2 separate regions of the Homo sapiens genome follow, and region 2 is linked to region 1. The links are contacts of gene promoters, found by promoter capture Hi-C in human tissues and cell types (Jung and others, 2019). All regions are on one chromosome and are shown on one strand. Each heading gives the region's core, a stretch centred on a gene start or on the middle of the fragment in contact. The rest is flanking DNA. Distances are from core to core; before and after follow the strand shown.

The links. The method cuts DNA at HindIII sites, captures the fragments that hold promoters and counts their contacts. A contact is called where the count stands out against the background at its distance.
Region 2: a contact is called between a fragment that was not itself captured here and the fragment with the promoter of ITPRIPL2 in region 1, in 2 of the 25 tissues and cell types used here (aorta and spleen).

The regions. Positions count from the first base shown.
Region 1 is chr16:19,112,089-19,116,477 of GRCh38, reverse strand. ITPRIPL2 (ITPRIP like 2) reads right to left here and starts at 2,514. Exons shown (of 1, transcript NM_001034841.4): 1 at 1-2,514. The coding sequence starts at 2,016. The coding sequence ends at 409. RefSeq lists silencers at 1,953-2,322, 2,413-2,512. The HindIII fragment of the contact is 3,376 bases long and covers 16-3,391 here.
Region 2 is chr16:19,254,974-19,259,112 of GRCh38, reverse strand. The region is part of intron 7 of SYT17 (synaptotagmin 17); the gene reads right to left. Among named protein-coding and RNA genes, the nearest start is that of CLEC19A, 29 kb to the left of the region's middle. The HindIII fragment of the contact is 5,357 bases long and covers 1-4,139 here.

The sequences.
Region 1 (4,389 bases), core at 1,265-3,764:
GTGTTTTGTTTTGTTTTTTTTTAATTTGGGCAGAGAGATCTGTGTCTAAAAACCGACAGAAGGAACTTTCCCTGCAGCTAGTTCTTGCTTCTTCTACTGGACTTCTCTAAAAGCCACATCCTTCTACAGAATCCGTCTACACAGAACAATATTTGAACCAATTCTTGGGTCTCCTGTTGGATGTCTTCCCATGGTTTGCCCAGGACACTCTAGTGGGTGTGAAGATGTCATATTATACTGGACTGTGAAGCGAGAAGGTGATATTTAAGCCACTAAAGCTTGTGGCAGCCACCAAATTTTCCAATGCCTTCTGCAATCTTGCATTTAACTGGCTTCACCGCCATTCCCACCCCCACCCAGTGGGAAAGGCTTTAGGAGCATTTGGTCAGGTGGGGGTGCTGTCAGGGTTTACGGTTCACCTTCAAGGAAGCCCTGGGTGCGCTGACTCCGGGGTGGGGGGCACCTGGCAAGGTAGCGGGGACCCCCGTAGGCCCGGAGAAGCTGGGGCAGCCTTTGCCACGTGGACAGCAACCGCGCTGCTGCAAGTTCCCGGGCGTGCCCGTCGAAAGCGGCCAGGAGGTCAACTGGGGCGGCTTCCCTCAGTGCCTTGGGCAGGGGACCCACCTCGGCAGCCGCCCCACCAGGGCCCAGGACGCAGTGGAAGAGCGTATGGCGTCGCAGCAGGCAGTCCCTAAGGAACTGCACCAACTCCTCCAAACACCTTCCCAGGTGCTCCTCGTCCCAGCCTTGCCCAGGGGCCCCCTTGCGCAGCAGCACTGCCAGCAGCACTGTCTTGAGCACATATGAGGATAGGATGCGTCCCCACTGGGTGGCGGCCGCTGAGTCCAGCCCACGGGCCCCCAGATCGCGCAGAGCCTTAAGCAACTGCAGGCACTTGAGGTAGCAGGCACCTGGAGCTGCCCGTTCCTGCAGCCAACTCAGCAGCTTCTGCTCCTGGCGTGCTGTGTTCACACCCCACAGTGCCTCCGCACGCAGGCCCTCAGGGAGCTCCAACAGGGGCGCGCTGGGCAAGGGTGGCGGTGGTGGCGCCACAAGGAAGACCCCATCTCCCAGATGGACAGCGGGGATGAGACGCACAGCCATAGAAAGGCGGCAGCAGCCGTAGTCAGTGCGGCAGGGCAAGATGTGTAAGGTGGGGGGCTGTTCCAGGCCACCTGGGGTCAAGGTGACCCGACAGCGCCCCTCCAGGCTGTAACGCACAGTGGCCAAGGAGCGCTGCAGATGCGACTGGAACCAGCGCAGCACCAGAGTAGCAGAGAGGTGACGCCGCCCGCGCACATCCACGCAGAAGGCATCAGCAAAGGGTTTGCAGTCCCGAAGCCAGTGGCCCCCCGAGGCCCCCGATGGTGAGGGTGGTGCCTTGAGGGCGCACAAGAAGCAGCCGCGGAAGGCCGGGGCCAGCGCTGGCTCCTCGCCCAGGCTCCGTGGCTCCAGCGCCACAAGCGGCGGGAGGCGCAGTGGCACCAGCACGTCGAAGCTGTCGGGCCGGCGGATTTTATGTTGCTCGTAGGCGCTGCCCACCTGGATGAAGTCTCCGCGGAAGGCCAAGGCCAGCGCTCCCCCAGGAATGAGACCGGGGGACCCCCGGGCGCGGCCAGCCCGCACCAGCTCGCCCACGATCCGGCTCACGTGCGCCTTGCTGTGGCCCAACACGTGCGGAGACAGGCGCACCTCATGCTCGTAGTAACTCTCCAGCAGGATGCTGAGGCCCGGCTCTCGGAAGTGTCTCGAGGAGAAGGCGGCGTGACCCTCCAGACGGGGAGACCCGGGCAGGAAGCGCTGCCGGACAGCGTGGCGACAGCGCAGGAGGACATAGCTGAGGAGGAGCAGGACGGCCACCTTAAGCAACGGGAAGCCGCCATCCACGCCGTCGGCGGGCTCGGCCCGGGCGCCCCCGCTTCCCCGCAGGACATGGTAGAGGCACACCAGGGCGGTGCACAGGCCGGTCACCAGGGGCCAGAAGACGCGTAGATTGAGGGTGTAGTGCACCGACATGCCGGGCGCCCGGGGCGGCGGTGGCCGAGCAGCCCAGGGGGCAAGCCCCGGCGGCGACCCAAGCCCAGCATGCGCACAGCGCCCGGGCAGCCCCGCTGTCCCCGTCTCCTCCTCCGCGGCGGCTTCCCGAACGCAGGCCCGAGGGAGGCCGCCCTCCAGCTCGGCCTCCTCTCCCAGCTCAAGTGTTCCTTCCAGCTGCGGCCCGCCCTGCGCTCTCGGGCCCCGGGCCGCGCCCTGCCCCGGCTGCGCGCTGAGTCCGGCCCAGCGGCCCTCCCCGCCCGGCGCCCCCGCGCGCCGCCGTCGGCCAGCTTCTGGCCCGGCCTGGCTCGCCTCCTACCCTGGGCGGCCCTCCTGGCTCTCCCGCCGCTCCTCTCCGCGCCTGACCCTGTTACTCGGACCCCGGGAGTTTCCTCTTCCGAGGGGGAGGCGAGGCCGCGCCAGCTAGCGGGGAGGAAATGCCGGAGTCTGGAGCCGAGCGTGGAGCTGGCGAGCCGGGTCGGCCCCCTCCCGGGCCTCCGCCTTAAAGCGACGCGGGGCGGCGGGAGGGACTTCAGGACGCTCTTGGAACTGGCCTCCCGCGGCCCACCCCCATCCTCCCTCCCCGAAGGCAGAATTGGGAAGGCCCTGATTCCGGGGCGGTAGCTTCGTCCAGGGAGCCTCTGGAGTTGCGCTCCCTTGAAGTTATACTGGGACGTTGAAAAGGAGAAAAGGGCGCACAGCCAGACTGTCCAGTCCTCCCCACCCCCACCGCACAAGCTGCGGTGGCGTGGCAGGCCCTGGCACAGGAGTGGCCCTTGCCGTCTGCCGCAGTCGTCTGTTCAAACCAGTATTCACCGAGCACCTACCATGTGCCAGGTCGGAGCCACAGTGCTGGGGAAATCATAGTTGACAAGATGGACAAGGTTTCTGTCCTTCGTGAAGCTTACAGCCTTGTAAAAATGGGAATCAAAAAAGGAAGGGGCTGGGCGCAGTGTCTCACGCCTGTAATCCCAGCACTTTGAGAGGCCGAAGTGGGCGGATCATTTAAGGTCAGTAGTTCGAGACTAGCCTGGCCAACATGGTGAGACCCCCCCCCCCGCCCCCCATCTCTACTAAAAATACAAAAATTAGCCAGGCGTAGTGGCACGCGCCTGTAATCCCAGCTGTTCGGGAGGTTCAGGCAGGAGAATCGCTTGAATCCGGGAGGCGGAGGCTGCCGTGAGCCGAGATCGCGCCACTGTACTCCAGCCTGGGTGACAGAGTGAGACTCCGTCTCAAAAAAAAAAAAAAAAAAAAAAAAAGTGGGGGGAAGGATTCCACAGCAAGAAAACGCTCTAAAATAAACAAAAGTGCCCGAGGGAGTGAGAAGGTGCTGGCTACCCTGTGGAAACCAGAGGATGACAGGGGTGACATTTGGCCTGAGACTTCATCGGAACATGCTGGTTCACCCCTGTAATCCCAGCACTTTGGGAAGCCGAGGCGGCGAGAAGATCGCTTGAGTGAGGCCAGGAATTCGAGGCTGCAGTGAGCTATGATAGCATCATTGCACTCCAGCCTGAGTGACAGAGCAAGACTCTTGTCTCTGAAAAAATAAAATAAATAAAATGAAATGAAATTAAAATAAAATTATTTTCCCAGTGGAGGAAAGGGGCACAAACAGGTTCAGCTCAGGCAGGTTCAGCTGCCCCCCTTCCCCCCTCCCCCACAAGGTTACACAGCCTTTGTAGAGCTGGGCAGAAACCAAGGGGTGGAACTCCCAGGAGGGGGCCCAGGGAAGGTCTCTTCCTCATCTGCTGGGAATTTTGGGGGTCCTTTGTCTGGGTCTACATTGGAACCTCAGTCCTAGGAAGCTTGTTTTGTTTCATAACAGGGAGCACTTCCTGAAATAATCTGATCTATTTAAATAATTGTCTTTCTTTATTCACACTCATTACACCTTCTTTGCTGGCACTGACCTTTAAAGAGAGCAAGGGTGAATATATTAAAACATGTTAGAACCCAGCTGCCACCTGGGAACCAGGACTCAAAAGATGGCTTCTGGGTTGTTCCCAGTAAATCCTAAATTGGGCCCCTGAGAGCTAAGCAGATCTGCCTTCAGATCCCATCTACTAATATTAGCTATGAGATCATCATCTACCAGTCAAGATTCTTAGGTTTGCAAGTGACAGAAACACAGCTCCAACTGGCTTAAGTGCACGCACGCATAGACACACACACACACACACATTATTGTATCATGTTAACTGAGATCCATGAGGGGATTTCAGGTACAGCTGAATCTAGGTGCCTCAATGCTATGCAGACCTGTTCTCCCTTCACTTCTTAGCTCTCTGCTTTTTAAGTGGGCTGTCCTCCCCACAGGTCCTCCATATGCCCTTGGCTGCTGTAGTCTCA
Region 2 (4,139 bases), core at 844-3,343, 140 kb before region 1:
AGTTCCCTTCTTCAGACAATGCATGGACACACCCTGCCTATTCCACTTTTAGGAATTTGAGACCCAACTTACCTGTAGAGTTATCAACATATCTATTTCCACCGTATCATAGCAATTCAAGTTGGGGAAACACAACCAGGAAACAAAAGTGTGGTAGGAGGCATCCACCAGGGCTCAAAGATCAGGCTTTGAAGGAGCCTGGGATAAAGATCAGTTTATTAAGCACCTACTGTGTATTAGGGCCAGGGCTAAGGACGTCAGTGGATTGACTCATTTAATCATCACATCAAGCCTCCAGAGCAGGGTTTCTCACCCTTGATACTGCTGACATTATGGGCCAGATCATTCTGTGTTTTGCGGTGCTGTCCTAGGCACTCTAAAATGCTTGGTAGCTCCTATCATCTCACACTAAATATCAGTAGCAATTCCTCCATCTCCCCTGTTTCTGTTATTTTATTTTATTTTATTTTTGAGATGGAGTCTTGCTCTGTCGCCCAGGCTGGAGTGCAGTGGTATGATCTCAGCTCACTGCAACCTCCGCCTCCCGGGTTGAAGTGATTCTCCTGCCTCAGCCTCCTGAGTAGCTGGGACTACAGGTATGCACCACCATGCCTGGCTAATTTTTGTGTTTTTTAGTAGAGACGGGGTTTCACCATGTTGGCCAGGCTGGTCTCGAACACCTGACCTCAGGTGATTCGCCTGCCTCAGCCTCCTGATGTGCTGGGGTTACAGACGTGAGCCACCGTGCCTGGCCTCCTCTATCTCCCTTGTGACTGCCAAAAGTATCTCTAGACATTGCCAGATGTACCCTGGGGACACAATTGCCACCCTTCCCGCCCCCCACCTCCCACATTTGAGAAGTGCTTTAAGGCAGTTGCTTTCACTGGCTCATTTTACAGCTGAGAAGAGTGAGTTCTAGAGGGTGAAGGGAGATCACTCACTGCTCCAGTCAAAACCTAAGTACCCTGAAGGAGTCAGGGACAAACTGAGGCTTTCACCTGTTGATATTTGCTGTAAAAACGAATTTGTTCCTCACCATAGGAGCTAAATTATTTGGTCGCTAATTTAGTTTGCCAAGGCAGACGGTTCTGGAAGGGAAGCTGGATGACTTAGAATGTGGGTGTAATAAACACTGCAAATTAAAAGGAAAAAAAAAAAACATCTTTACCAATGGGAGCAGACTCAACAGCTTCTCATTTTGCATATTTGGTTCACAAGGTAATGAAGGACTCTCATTTGTGCCCTAGGCTCTCACTGCTCCCATATGCAACTCTGAGTCTGACAGCACAGTGCAGGGACACCCCCAGATTATGGCTGGCACCCCGAAACCTCATCACTGTACCCGGCGATCTACCTCTTTGATGCTGGGTTAAGATGTTCCCCTGTTCCTGAAAAGAAAAAATGCACAAAGCCAGCAAGACCACCCTGGGCTGTTTCATAGTCCTGCCTACTTCCTCATGGCCGAGAGGTCCCCACAGCCCATCATCAGGGTGTTCATGAGTTAGCTTAACTGTTGGAGGAGACATAACGCAGTCTACACAGGCCTGCTTCTTCCCCTTTTCTTTCTTCCTACAGGGCAGCTCTGACACACTGCAACGCAGGTGGTCCTCATTGTCTTTCCAACTTTTGCAAAACCTCTTCTCACTGGAGCACTCTCTTTTTTTTCTTCTTTCAGAAACCTAGAAGCTTTTTCAGGTTTTTCTTTTTTTTTTTTTTGCAAAACAAGGTACATCATATCCCTTCCCTGGGCCTCAGTTTCCCCCTTTATACAATGAGCGGGTATATGTAGATTTTGAGTTCTTTTTTAGCTATGACATTTCTTTGGTTCTAAGAAGTTTCATCCATGACTTAAGGGTGATGTTTTTCAAGCTTTTCTGGCTCACTTCGTGATTCACAGCAGCTGCTGGGACAGAACTTTTTTTTCATGTTTTTCCTTCCAACAGTCATAATGACGATTCAGTTAACTTTATTATAATAATTAAAAATCAGTAACAGCAAATCTTGAGGTCTGTGTACTACGAACTGAGAAAAGCACTTTATATATGTTGTTGTTTTTCTTTTTTAAACTTAAATCCATATCACAGCCCTATTTTTATTGCCATTTTGCAGATGGGGAATTTGAGGCTCGGAGAAGTTAAGAGGTTGAGTGCTCAAAGCCACCCAGCCAGCACGAGGCATAGTAGAAATTGAAACTCAAAGTCCAGCCTAATTTCTTCCTTTATCTCAAAAAGAAGAGGCCAAGCACAGTGGCTTATGCCTGTAATCCCAGCACTTCGAGAGGCCAAGGTGGGAGGATCGCTTGAGCCCAGGAATTCAAGACCAGCCTGGGTTACATAATGAGACTGTCTCTATAAAAAAATTTAAAAAGTAGCTGGGCATGTTGGTGCACGCCTGTGGTCCCAGCTACTTGGGAGGCTGAGGCGGGAGGACTGCTTGAGCCCCGGAGGTTGAGATTGCAGTGAGGCATGATCATACCACTGCACTCCAGCCTGGTCGAAAGAGTAAGACCCTGCCTCAATAATAATAATAATAATAATAATAATAATAATAATAATAGACTCACCCATTTCCTACTTCCCTTGACCCTCTCCTGTGATAAGGGCCAGATTGGGTAATAGAGATGTATGGTACGTGTGTGTGTGTGTGTGTGTGTGTGTGTGTGTGTGTGTGTGTGTTTGAAGAGGGGTTAAAACCTCAACCAGCATATAAGGGAAAAGGCCAACAGTCAGAATGGCCCTGGAAAGTCCCGTGAAAATCCTCATAAAGGCGCCATGTTGAGGCCCTTCTCGCCATCTCTCTAGGGTCCAGCATGGTCAGGATTGGCTCTGACTTTTGAATGAGTGGCTCCCTGTTCAGTCAAGCAGCAGATAAGGAGGGAAGATGTCCTATATTAAAGACTGTTGCTATGAAAAATACAATGATAGCACCCAACAGTTCTATAGTGCTTATCACATACCAGCCCTGTCCTGTGGATTTCAGTACACAAATTTAATCCGCACAACAAATCTATGAGGTTTGTACTATGATTACCTCTATTTTATTATTTCCTTGAGCCTAGAGGGCACACACTGATAGCATGATGCATCGTCCTGGGGACTGACCTAGACCAGCCTTGAGCAGATCCTGGAAATAGGCTTGGGCTGTTTGGGTGGGAAATTCTGGGATCCCAGTATGTGGAGATGATCTAGCAAGGAAGATGTGGGCTCCTTGATGCCTGGACTCCTCACTCCATGAATTTCTTGCCTCCTCCCATTTACAGCATGAGGCCCAAGGTAGAAGCCCTCTTTGTCGTGGTCTGCAGGCAATATTGGCTTAGAACGAATTATTTAATTTTTATTTTAAGAGAGTACAGTGGAGTGCAGTGGCGTGGCATGATTATAGCTCACTGCAGCCTCAACCTCCTGGGCTCAAGTGATCCTCCTGGCTCAGGTTCCTGAGTAGCTGGGACTACAGGGGCACCTCACCACGCCCAGCTAATTAATTTTTTTTTTAGACATGGGGTCTTGCTATGTTGTCCAGGCTGATCTTGGACTCCTGGCTTCAAGCAATCTTACTCTCCTCAGCCTCCCAAAGTGTTGGATTACAGGTGTGAGCCACCGTGCCTGGCCTGAATTTTTTAATGCATTTGTTTTCAACAGGGGCCAATTTTACCCCACAATCTGGAGGCATTTTTGATTGTCATGTCTTGGAGGGAGGGGTGCTGCTGGCCTCTAGCGGGTAGAGCTCAGGGATGCTGCCCCCCATCCTACAATGCACAGGACAGGCCCTACAGTGAAGAATAATCCAGCCCCAAATATCAGTGTAAGTGTGGAGGTAGAAAACCTCTGCCTTAAGGGAAAAGCAGCAACGATGGGAGTTCCCTTCATTAAAACCGAAGCCTCCCCTCTCCCAACCAAAGGAAAGCCATTGAGATTCAAAAGACTATGGCAGATTCACAGGGTAAAGGAGCTGGGAGACTCAGGAGCAGGTGGGAGGAAAGTCACCTCCACTGAGCTAGACAGAGCTTGGGAGCTCAGCACAGAAAACAAATTTAGAGCGAATTTAAGGGGAGAGAAACGGGGGAGTGGAGGAGAAACCACGGAGAAATGCTGCTTTGGCTTATGAATGAGATCTCTTTCTCCTTCCTCAAGAGATGAAAG